2 separate regions of the Homo sapiens genome follow, and region 2 is linked to region 1. The links are contacts of gene promoters, found by promoter capture Hi-C in blood cells and fetal thymus (Javierre and others, 2016). All regions are on one chromosome and are shown on one strand. Each heading gives the region's core, a stretch centred on a gene start or on the middle of the fragment in contact. The rest is flanking DNA. Distances are from core to core; before and after follow the strand shown.

The links. The method cuts DNA at HindIII sites, captures the fragments that hold promoters and counts their contacts. A CHiCAGO score of 5 or more calls a contact.
Region 2: a contact is called between a fragment that was not itself captured here and the fragment with the promoter of SUPT16H in region 1, in 1 of 17 cell types (monocytes). The highest score is 5.5, in monocytes.

The regions. Positions count from the first base shown.
Region 1 is chr14:21,381,004-21,387,274 of GRCh38, reverse strand. It overlaps SUPT16H (SPT16 homolog, facilitates chromatin remodeling subunit), which reads left to right and starts at 3,256. Exons shown (of 26, transcript NM_007192.4): 1 at 3,256-3,413. The coding sequence starts at 3,348. CHD8 (chromodomain helicase DNA binding protein 8) reads left to right here. Exons shown (of 38, transcript NM_001170629.2): 38 at 1,099-2,076. The coding sequence ends at 1,662. It overlaps LOC107984643 (a long non-coding RNA gene), which reads right to left and starts at 3,002. Exons shown (of 2, transcript XR_001750627.2): 1 at 2,562-3,002. The HindIII fragment of the contact is 3,293 bases long and covers 2,587-5,879 here.
Region 2 is chr14:20,394,432-20,400,702 of GRCh38, reverse strand. TEP1 (telomerase associated protein 1) reads left to right here. Exons shown (of 55, transcript NM_007110.5): 10 at 3,973-4,082; 11 at 4,754-4,844; 12 at 5,076-5,253. Among named protein-coding and RNA genes, the nearest start is that of TEP1, 16 kb to the left of the region's middle. RefSeq lists an enhancer at 1-74. The HindIII fragment of the contact is 1,267 bases long and covers 1,844-3,110 here.

The DNA of each region.
Region 1 (6,271 bases), core at 2,007-4,506:
ACCTCAAGTGATCCACCTGCCTCAGCCTCCCAAAGTGCTGGGATTACAGGCATGAGCCACCACGCCTGGCCCAGAATTCTTAATATAGAATTGACAGTGAATCTAGCACTACGTTATTCTTGGGACCTGCAGGAATAACTTCTATCTTCAATGAACTTAATCAGAATTTTTAGTCAGAACATCTAGAAGAAGCCATTTAAAATTCAGATATGTAAGTTTTTTATCAATGTGGAACAAAAATTATTTTATTAAATTTAGTGAGGAGTTTCTGACAGTTTTTTGGTGTTCTAGACATGTAGAAATCTTTATCTGATCTGTCTTGAATTTACCCTGCTTTGATGTGCTAATAGAGGATATTATTGTAAATGTCAATTCACATAGTAAGAACAAGTGAACAACTTGCCATCAGGAGACACGAGTGATTTTTTTTTTTTTTTTGAGACGGAGTCTCGCTGTCGCTCAGGCTGGAGTGCAGTGGCGCGATCTCGGCTCACTGCAAGCTCTGCCTCCCGGGTTCACACCATTCTCCTGCCTCAGCCTCCCGAGTAGCTGTGGGACTACAGGCGCCCGCCACCTTGCCCAGCTAATTTTTTGCATTTTTAGTAGAGACCGGGTTTCACCGTGTTAGCCAGGATGGTCTCGATCTCCTGACCTTGTGATTCCCCCGCCTCGGCCTCCCAAAGTGCTGGGATTACAGGCGTGAGCCACCGCGCCCGGTCACAAGTGATTTTTTTTATGTGCATTTACTAATTCATTGTCTTACCCAGACCCCTTCTTAACAAAGGTAAGCATTTGTGAAATGGTTGACTAAAGTAAAGATACAATATAGTCATGGGGAAAAGAAGCAAAAACTGGTTAATATGAGTTTCGGTACAAAATCATTGATCTTAACTTTAGTATCAGAATGTTTCAACCAGCTAAGTCCAGCATTTCCTCCTTCCCATTACCACCAATCAAGCCTAGTATCGCTGTGCTTGTTTTGCCTCTTCTAAGGTACATTCAGTAAAAAAGCATTGTAAGCTAGGACTCTGTTGGCTTTGGTTTCTTTTCTTTTTTCCCCTTTCTTTCTTTTTATTATCTTCTATTCCCTCCTCCTAGGGTCATCACACTGAAACGGTGTTCAACCGGGTTTTGCCAGGGCCTATTGCACCAGAGAGCAGCAAGAAGCGGGCCCGTAGGATGCGACCAGACCTTTCTAAGATGATGGCCCTCATGCAGGGTGGAAGCACTGGGTCTCTATCTCTGCATAACACGTTCCAACACAGCAGTAGTGGCCTACAGTCTGTGTCATCTTTGGGTCACAGCAGTGCCACTTCTGCATCTTTGCCTTTTATGCCATTTGTGATGGGTGGTGCACCATCATCCCCTCATGTAGACTCCAGCACCATGCTTCATCACCACCACCACCACCCCCACCCCCACCATCACCACCATCACCATCCAGGCTTGAGAGCCCCTGGCTACCCCTCTTCACCAGTGACTACCGCCTCTGGTACTACCTTGCGGTTGCCACCACTGCAACCTGAGGAGGATGACGATGAGGATGAAGAAGATGATGATGACTTATCTCAGGGCTATGATAGCTCAGAAAGGGACTTCTCACTCATTGATGATCCTATGATGCCAGCTAACTCAGACTCCAGTGAAGATGCTGATGACTGAAGCCCCAGCATGGGCCCCATTGCTTGGGCGGCTGCTGTATTTTCATTTACTCTGGCCCTTGGACTATGGAAACGTGGGAGGGGCAGGGGAGATGTGGGGAAGTCCAGGACTCCAGGAGGTGAAAAGGAAAAAAAAAAAAAAATGTACCTGATTGCTCCCAATTATGAGAGGATTGGGTGGGCAGGGGAACTCCTAAAATAATACATGACCACTTCCTCATTTCTGGGGAAGGAAAGGAGACTAGAGCAGCTGGTGTGCTCACCCCTCCCTAGTCACCTCCATTAACCACAGACTATGTAGCGCTGGCCCTAGCCTCTGGCAGAGCCTGTTCCTGGCCGAACTGTGGATACAGCTGGAGGGTCAGGAACTGTTACCTTCTTTCCCCTTGGCATTAATAAATTTAAGTTAATCCTTTTCCACTCTTCCTTTGTTCTATGTTTGCTCAAACCCAGTGTATTGATTTTGAGTTGTTAATGGTGGGTAATTTCAGCACCACTTTCCTTAAGTTCAATACTGTTTATACTAAATTGCCTTACAGCAGACAAGTCATCTGTACTCCTCTAAAGGGTATATACAAATGTAGACTGTCCAGCTGGCTAAAGGCAAGGGAATTATTTAAGGTAAATGGTAGGTAGGCAAACTTCTGGATTCAAACTCCAAGTTTTTAGAAGAGACAGGGAGCAAGAATGTCATCAGGAACCATTTATGTTTTGTTTCTAATTAACTGAAGTAACGGTTATTTGGGGGAAGCCATAGAATAGTGCCAGTTTTCATGAACTGCAGCAAGGGGACTGGCCGACTGGAAGGATGCTGCCGCGACTTGGGCTCAGGGGGTGGGGTTGTGGGAAGGAACTAAAAGTTTGTAGAGCCCCTCAAGTCATCTGTTTCCTCTGACTTACACCATCCCACTGCTCAGTTAAAGCTTGCGCATATTATTTTCCTTTCGAAAACTAGGTTCCTCCCCCAGCTTGGGTCGTAGTTTATCACGAGGCTGGGCTCCATTTCCCTGGTATGAGTCCTCTGTCCCGGCGGAGCGCTTGACCCAGCATCCTGGCACCGAGGATCCCTCGAGTCCTGGAGCAGTCAAGGGCTTTTGCATTCCCATCATTTCTAGGAGGGGCGCATGCCCAGTTACACTGTAGTAGTCCCACTTTTATCCCACGCTAGATCCCGCTCTTTCCGCTCCCCCTTCCTTTGCAGATGGGGTGGAGCTATAACACCCGCGCGCGGCAGCTCTTGTGGGCGGGGCAGGCGCCGCCTCCTTCGCTTCGTCTAGGGACTGCCGCCTCGGCAAAAAGTCTGAGGTCCTGGAAACCGCCGCTGGGCTGAGAGTTAATAAGGGCGGAGGCAGACCGTCACGTGACGACGTCGATTCGCGTGCGGCAGTGGCGAAGTTGACAAACCCCGCGAAAATCGACTCTTTGCATCGCACATTTTGTTGATTTTCCCTCGTTTTTCTTTCTCTCTTTCCCCCGTCCATCCGAAAGAGGGTTGGAAAAAAACAAAACAAACAAACAAACAAAAAAAAAACCTAACGCTGTTGGGACCCGGAAGCGGAAAGGGCATCTTTGAGGTCGATACTTCCGGGTCATTGGGAGAGTGCGGGATTCCTGGGCCGAGAGCGGGTGGCTGAGCCGGGACCTCGCGTGATTCTCGGAACCCGAGGAGAAGCGGCGTCCGGGGCTATGGCTGTGACTCTGGACAAAGACGCTTATTATCGGCGAGTGAAGAGACTGTACAGCAATTGGCGGGTGAGGAAGATCCTGTAATTTTTCCTAGGGAGCCCCCTTAGCCATCCCATAATAACCCTGTTTCTCGGCGCCCTTTTTTCTCTTTCGGTCAGGAATTCCCGGGTTCTGTGCCTCACCCTTTTCGTTGCTCCCGAATCATTCACCGGAGGCGGCCACGAACGCTGCCCCTTAACAGGGAATCCCCCGCATTCACCCTGTCCTGCGGCCATCACCATCTTCCCCGCGTGCCAGCCTTGGTCATGCATAGCAGCACCTCTCGCAGTCTCTTCCCGCCCTAGAAGAGGCAACATCCTTCCCTCCTACTCCGTGGTCACGTCTTGCTGCCCTCCCCTGCCGTGTTCTCACGCACTCGCTCTGTCCCTCCAGAACCACAATATTCCACCCCTGGTCCCGCCAGGATTATAACCGTCTTCGTAAAGGAGAGATGGAAGGGCAAGGAGGATGTCAATCGGGCTTTTAGCGTTTATCGTTTGCGGGGCTTTTGCTGGAGTTAAAAAAAGAAATACTGCTCACGCGCAACCGCCTCATGTTCTAGGCCCTGCTGTGGGTTACAGAGAGGGACCTAACGCTGAAAGCCTGCAGGCATTAGTAATAACAAAACAAAACAAAACGATGCCTAAAACCTTATTAGTTCCTTGGTAGCGTATCCGGGGCACGTGTTCATTAAAAGAGCTGTGGCAGTTCCCAGTTTTTTAAAGATTCGGCAGTTTTGCTGCTCTAAAAACGTCCACAGTTAAAACTTATTTTTATGATGTTAACTTACTAATTGAGCAAACATTTGGTTGCATTCTGTGATGCAGTCTGAGTTGGCTAGCTTAAGTCTTGCCCCTGAACCCTGTCATCAAGGGAAGATACAGCTAATAAAGATTTTTTTTTAACCTGAAAAACGTTTTGAGAAAAATGATCAGCTCTCATTTCAGCATTGTAAATTATCTTTCAAACTGGTCATCTACTAAAACCAAGCCATTAAAATTGGTCGTTTCCTTGCCATTCATATTAAAGCTGTCTGTGCATGTTTCATCTTTTGGGGCTAAATACATTAGATAATTGAAAATAAAATTGATTCTCTTGCATTTTATGAAAAGGAAAAATAAGAACTAAATGCTAGATGAATACTGAACATTTTATTTTTTTTAATTTTTTGATTAATTTCTACCAAATGATTTTTTGCAGCTTCTCTCAGTGTCATATTATTCAAACATAATCGATGTTAGAAAAACATTTTAAAACCTTGATACTTTCTAATGATCAGTAAGTACTAAAAATCCGAAGCCCTCTCTTGTACCCATAAACCCTGAAACTGTGAACCTTTGGTATGAAAATTGTTTCTAGTCCCAGTGATTCAGATTCATCAAATAATTTCATTCTCTCTATACCATTCATGAAAACTAATCTATAGCTCTCACTTCCTCTACATGACAAATTAACTGTGGCCTGAAGACAGGTTGGCAAACCTAATAAAACTGATAGTCTTTAAATCCATGAAAGTTATTTCCCACCCACCATTTTTTTTTGTATCTCAAAAATCTTTAAAGTTTATCTTGGCCCTCTTACTACCTTAATGACATCATCTTGGGAGAATGTTAGATATTGATAAGACACTGATGGTGTAAAGTTATGAGCCAAATCTATGTAAAAATGTACCAGTTAACAAAACCTGTGGCTATTATGAAAAACTTACTTGAATAAGACTTTCTGCTTTTGTGTTAATGTGTCCAGAACCCACCTGTAGAAGTTCTTTGTGTATGCAGTCTTTTCACCCTACAGTGCTTTCATTCTGATACACTTAATCAGAGATAGTAGTTTTCTGGGTTAAATCTAGTCGCTTATCCTCCTGGATATAGCAGAAAGATAGTGGGATATATAGGTGTGTTGTATAACTTTTCTCTTTTACACCTTTTCCTTTTTTTAATAAGAAAACTGGGATTGAAATAGAATAAGTTGAAGTTAATGGTAAAAATTCCAAACCTGGCTGGGCACCGTGACTCATGCCTGTACCCAGCACATGAGGCCAGGAGTTAAAGACCAGCCTGGGCAAGATGATGAGACCCCCGTCTCTACAAAAAAAAAAAAAAGGCAAATAAATTAACCAGGCATGGTGGTGTGTGCCTATAGTCCTAGCTACTTGTGATGCTGAGGCAGAAGGATCCCTTGAGCCCAGGAGTTTGAGGCTGCAGTGAGCTGTAATCGCATCACTGCACTCCAGCCTGGATGAGACCCCGTCTTTAAAAAATAAATTAAAAAAAAAAAAAATAAATCCCAAGCCTTTTGCTTTCAGCTTCCATCTTAAAAAAAAAAACTGTTATGACTAAAATTAACTAAAAAATGATTTGGGCTCCAAACCCACTTTTAATTTTAAATACTCTTGATTATAAGCCCTTAAAAGCTGTAGTGGTTGAACCTGGTAGTTCCAGCAGTCCAAATACAAGTACACAGGGTTGTAGAGAACTGATAGGCTACTAAGCTTTTTCTTCCCTTTTTTAAAAATAAGAATAGGAATTAACCTTACCTATCTGCAAGTTAATTTTCAGTTAGGTACATATTTTGAGGCTATTGCAAATAAAATATTTTTTAATTATAATTTTCATAACTTATGTCCTAAAAACAATTGTAGTTACCATGTACTTTTAACTGAATAGAAATTTCAAAAATATTAAGCCCTGTATCTAAGTAAATCGTGTCATTTTAGAGATGGGAAAATGGAGTCAGTCAAAAATCAACAGGAGACCTTAGAACGTACTATTGTTTTATGACTCCTGGAGGTTTGAGTCTAGATCCAGTCTTGCCTCTTATGTTTTAAGTGAGAGCTGCTAAGAGCAGAAAGGATTTGCAGCACCTTCTCTGTATTATTAGAATAT
Region 2 (6,271 bases), core at 1,228-3,727, 990 kb after region 1:
CGATATCTCTGTAACTCATTCCAAAAAAGGTAGGACTGGCACATGGCATATTGGAATCTGTACAGAACCTCATATTGTATTTAGGACATGGAAGTTTTAGGTAATTTGCCCACATTGATACAGAAAAAAAAAAAGTCAAATAGAGGAGGATCAAGTTATCTTCAGTTTTCTCTTTCTCTGTTTTTTTTTTTTTTTTTTTTTTTTTGGTCTACTTTTACCTATAGCAGGCTCTTTCTTTCGTTTTTTACTTTATAAAATTATTACTTTTCTTTTTAAATTTTAGAGACAAGGTCTTTGTAATGTTGCCCAGGCTGGTCTCAAACTCATGGCCTCAAGCATTTCTCCTACCTTGGCCTCCCAAAGTGCTGGAATTATAGGCATGAGCCACTGCACACACACACACACGCACCCACACACAAACACACATACACACACACACCTGCCCCCAGTTGACAGCCTCTTCTTCCCTGATGGTTGAAACCACTTGGGGTGGAGTAGAATAAAGGGGCCTGGATAGAAGCCGGTATATGTAGATAATTCTTTTTTTTTTTTTTTTTTTTTTTTTGAGACGGAGTTTTGCTCTTTTTGCCCAGGCCGGAATGCAATGGCGCAATCTTGGCTCACTGCAACTTCTGCCTCCTGCCTCAGTCTCCCGAGTAGCTGGGATTACAGGCGCATGCCACCATGCCCAGCTAATTTTGTATTTTTAGTAGAGACGGCGTTTCACCATATTGGCTGGTCTTGAACTCCTGACCTCCAGTAATCCACTCGCCTCGGCCTCCCAAAGTGCTGGGATTATAGGTGTGAGCCACCACGCCCAGCCATATGAAGATAATTCTATATGCACCCATCTCCACTTCCTCCCTCTGGTTGAGAACCACTGTCCCTGAAAATGTAAGGACATGTAAATTTATTCTTTTAATGTCATTTATCCTGGTTGAGGCAAATGCCCATAGTCTAATCCCGTGGTGGCTAGTGTTTCTTTTTTTTAATCATATACTACAAAAACAATTTTTAGGATACACCAGAATATATGTATATGTACTTTTTTTTTTTTTTTTTTTTTTTTTAAGAAACAGGGCCTCACTTTGTTGCCAAGGCTGGTCTCCAATTGCTGGGATTACAGATGTAAGCCACTGTGCCCAGCCAAAAATAAATATAAATAAATAAAAGGAAATATAAAAAAAGATATAAGTATAAAATATAAGATAAAATGTAATTGGATATACAGAACCCTTTTTGAAGACCACAGATCTCATTAATAACTCATTAACATTTTTTTGGAATGAAATTAGTGAATTTTGCAATCTTAAGGATAAATGTCCAGTTTATTTTCTAATATCACCAGTATGATATTGGACTTAATTTCTTACCGAAAATGATCTAGAAAACCTTTTATACATAGTAACAGTGGAAAAAACTTGAGTCGACAATGGATGCAATAGTTCATTTATAGTACATATACAACCTAATTGTTCCATACAGTTTGTGAATCAGAATTATGACTGGAGGCCAGGCACCATGGCTCACGCCTGTAATCCCAGCACTTTGGGAGGCTGGGGCGGGCAAATCACTTGAGCTCAGGAGTTTGAGACCAGCCTGAGCAACATGGTGAAACCCCGTCTCTAACCAAAAATAGAAAAATTAGCTGGGCATGGTGGTTGATGTCTGTGGTCCCAGCTGCTTGGGAGGTTGAGGCAGGAGGATTGCTTGAGCCTGGAAAGTGGAGGTTGCAGCGAGCCAAGATTGTGCCACTGAGTGACAGAGACAGACTCCATCTCAAAAATAAAAAAAAAAAGAATGATGACTGGAGAATCCCAAGACTTCCAGAGGGCTGAAAGCTTCCAGCTATAATTCAAATAAGACTTACATCCCCTTTACAAAGGGAGCAGCATTTACCTGATGAAGCTGCTGATGGTGTGGGCTGGTGCACAAGGCATGGTGACGGACTGACCGGCCTGGCCTCTAAAGTGGTTTGAATGCACCTCTGTCCAGGAAAAGAAAATCACACCTCCTATTTATGTTTACTTTTATCTAAAAGAAAAGAATTTTCCCAGTACTTACCATGCAGATTGAACCCACATAGTCACTGAATCCATATGATACAGTGTTATGTGTTACGTGTAATAGTTGAGGTTTTCTGAGCATCCACAATCTGAGGGCATTAATGTCACCCCTTCACTCTTTTTTTTTTTTAATTTTGGTTTCTATATAATTTGACTTATAGCAATTTATCTTTCAATTGTAGATGGATTTGGAATTATATTATTCAGTATTAACCAAATTAACTGTCTAAAATTGATATAAACCTTTTTTTTTTTTTTTTGGGCGGAGTCTCACTTTGATGCCCAGGCTGGAGTGCAATGGCGCGACCTCGGCTCACTTCAACCTCCGCCTCCCAGGTTCAAGTGATTCTCCTGCTTCAGCCTCCTGATTAGCTGAGATTACAGGCGACCACCACCACGCCCGGCTAATTTTTGTATTTTTAGTAGAGATGGGGTTTCACCGTGTTAGCGAGGATGGTCTTGATCTCCTGACCTCATGATCCGCCTGAGTCGGCCTTCCAAAGTGCTGGGATTACAGGCGTGAGCCACTGCACCCGGCCTAAAATTGATATAAACCTTAAAAATATTATTATTAAGAAACTATGGGCTGGGCATGGTGGCTCACGCCTGTAATCCCAGCAATTTGGGAGGCCGAGGCAGGCAGATCACTGTAGATCGGGAGTTTGAGACCAGCCTGGCCAACATGGTGAAACCCCGTCTCTACTAAAAATACAAAAATTAGCCAGGCATGGTGGTGAGCACTTGTAATCCCAGCTACTCGGAGGCTGAGGCAGGAGAATTGCTTGAATCCAGGAATCAGAGGTTGCAGTGAGCTGAGATTGCACCACCACACTCTAGCCTGGGTGACAGAGTGAGACTCCGTCTCAAAAAAAAAAGAAAAGAAACTATGGCTTGAAGATAATATTAATAACACAGGTACAAGGGAACAATAAGGAAGTGACAGAGGTCAGTGGTGAAATTCTATCTCCAGTGCAAATCTTTTTCACCTATATTTAAGCAAAAAAAGTAATGACTAATCAAATAGAAGAAATTGGGTGAGAAGCTTACAAATTATGAAGACTATTTCAAATATGGATTTACATACATTCGTCATTATAAATGGTGAACTTTTTTTTAATTTTTTTTTTGGAGACAGAGTCTTGCTTTGTCACCCAGGCTGCAGTGCAGTGGCGTGATCTCGGTTCACTGCAACCTTCGCATTTTGGTTTCAAGCGATTCTCCTGACTCAGCCTTTCGAGTGGCTGGGATTAGAGGCACCAGACACCACGCCTGGCTAATTTTTGTATTTTTGTAGAGACGGGGTTTCATAAATGGTGAACCTTCTTTTAAATGGATATTGTGCCTTGAAATATTAACTAATGAATGTGCTACATTATGTTAGTATATACTTCATAAATCAACTTACACTACGAAATTTCTCTTTTGGCCATCTAAAAAGTTTAGAAACCTTTGCTCTAGACTAGATAATACATTTTGCCAGTTGAACCCAATCTTAGGGCTAGAGCCAACAGATTAAGTGGTAACATAACAGCCATCCCATAAACAGTGTTGCATAAATTTTGTTCCAAACTTTGGGCCAACCCTGTTTTTAATCTTTCCAAGCCTTTAAAACATTTTGAGTAGGGTAGATTGTATGTGAATTCCTCACTTCCTCTATCTTGGACTTTCCACATGCCTGGTTTCTGAACTTCTTGCTCTGGTCTCTGACCTCTCTCTAATCATCCCTCATTTGCTTTTTTTTTTTGAGACAGTCTTGCTATGTTGCCCAGGCTGGACTCTAATTCCTGGGTTCTGGGCTCAAGTGATCCTTCTGTCTCAGCCTCCTTGGTAGCTGAGATTATAGGTGCATGCCACTGTGCCTGGCCTTCTCATTTGTTTTTCTCACTCTATGCCCCACATTCCACAGAAAATGGGAAGCTTCCCTTCATGGCCATGCTTCGGAACCTGTGCAACCTGCTGCGGGTTGGAATCAGTTCCCGCCACCATGAGCTCATTCTCCAGAGACTCCAGCATGCGGTATGTGTGAGGGGCTGGTAGCCATGGGGCCCAGCAACTAGATGTGCACGTGGAGAGGCCACTGCTGCTTTAGAGGCCAGGCTTTTTCAGGGGGCAGAGGCAGGTACGGCCCTCAAGCTGTTTCCATGTGGGCTGTAAGTAGATCTGGGAATACAGCTAGGTTGAGGGAGATAAGTTTTGGGGTTCAGTAAATCCTTTGAGAAGTTACAGTAGAGTATAAGAACTTTCATTTTAATTTTCTGAGCTCAGTGACTTACCAGGAAGAGACACTTGTGTGATGTAACTGATTTCAGAAGGAGTCTTTGTTTTTTATTTATAGAGATGGGGTTTTGCGATGTTGGCAAGGCTGGTCTCAAACTCTTGAGCCCAGGCAGTCCACCTGCCTAAGGCTCCCAAAGTGCTGGGATTACAGGCGTGAGCTACCACACCCTGCCCAGAGGGAGTCTTAAAAGAAACGGGGCTCCTTCTGTTACTTTCTCTTCTTTTGTTACCTTTTCTCACATCCTAAAATGATGACTTTTTTCTTTCTTCTTATTACCCCTTTTCTATATCTCTTGTCTAAGTTCATTTTGTCCTTCTGTACCTTCCCACAAAGCTAATAGAGTGGACCCCTGAAGCCCCCCATACTCCCGGCTCCTGTGCTCATGACCCCTCCCTCCTTTGCTTTCTAGAAGTCGGTGATCCACAGTCGGCAGTTTCCATTCAGATTTCTTAACGCCCATGATGCCATTGATGCCCTCGAGGCTCAACTCAGAAATCAAGGTATTCTCCCCTTTCTTCCAACTCCTCTTTGCCTCCCACATCTGACAATAAATGAAGCAGCAGCACCAATATTTTTAGCCTCTTGCTTTGCAGTCTCAGGGTGTATCGGGGTGGGGGGCAGAGGTCAGGCACTTGCCAGCCCCAAGGGTTGGGGCTCAGGTCACATTACTGGTAGGAAAAGATGAGGGAATAGAAGCTGCCTAACTCGGAAATTTACCTGTCATCATACAGCATTGCCCTTTCCTTCGAATATAACACTGATGAGGCGGATACTAACTAGAAATGAAAAGAACCGTCCCAGGCGGAGGTTTCTTTGCCACCTAAGCCGTCAGCAGCTTCGGATGGCAATGAGGATACCTGTGTTGTATGAGCAGCTCAAGAGGGAGAAGCTGAGAGTACACAAGGCCAGGTATGTATGCACTGTCTGGGAGCCAAGGGTGGGCAATCGGGGCTACCCTGGCACAGGTTGGAAGTCATCTGGGAATCCCAACTGTTTTTCTGTAAAGGTTTGCTTGTCAGTCATCGCAGTGGCTCAGAACTGCCTGGTTTCTTGCACAGCACACCTTGTCTTTAACATTGTCCTAAAGAGAGATCATGAAACAAAGTCTACTCCTGGACCTCCACTCTATTATCTGTGATTGTTTTATTGGTTTATGTAGATTCCTTTCTTTTAGTTATGCTGATGTATGGTGGTGTATGCTGGTGTCCTCTCTGCTTCTGCTCTGATTCATGGTTTTCTTTTTCTTTTCTGTGACATGTTTGTTTTTCTTTTTGTTTCTATCTTTCTGTATTTTTTGACCCATTCATCTTTTTTGTTTTTGTTGTGTGTGTGTGTATTTTGAAATACACACAAAGATAGTTACCATCAGCAGGCTCAAAGACAGATGTACCATCTGTTTTGTAGGCTTGATGAAGTCTCAGCTGTCTTTTTAAGTGGTTCATCAGTATCTTACACTTATTTTTACTCAAAACAAACACAGGACTCACTTAACTTTCTAGAGGGCTCAGTAACTAGGAATCTCCTGAATCAGTAGCTGAACAGAGGGCCATTTAAGAATCAAGCCTGGCTGGGTGTGGTGGCTCACGCCTGTAATCCCAGAACTTTGGGAGGCCGAGGCAGGTGGATCACGAGGCAGGTGGATCATGAGGTCAGGAGTTTGAGACTAGCCTGGCCAACATGGTGAAACCCCCTGTCTACTAAAAATACAAAAATTAGCCGGGTGTGGTGGTGGGTGCCTGTAATCCCAGCTACTTGGGAGACTAAGGCAGGAGAATCACTTGAACCCGGGAGGCGGAGGTTGCTGTGAGCTGAGATCGCGCCATTGCACTCCAGCCTGGGCAACAAGAGTGAGACTCTGTCTCAAAAAAAAAAAAAAAAAAAAAAGCCCAAGGGGCCAGTCCAAATGGTATTTGTGTACTGACCAATG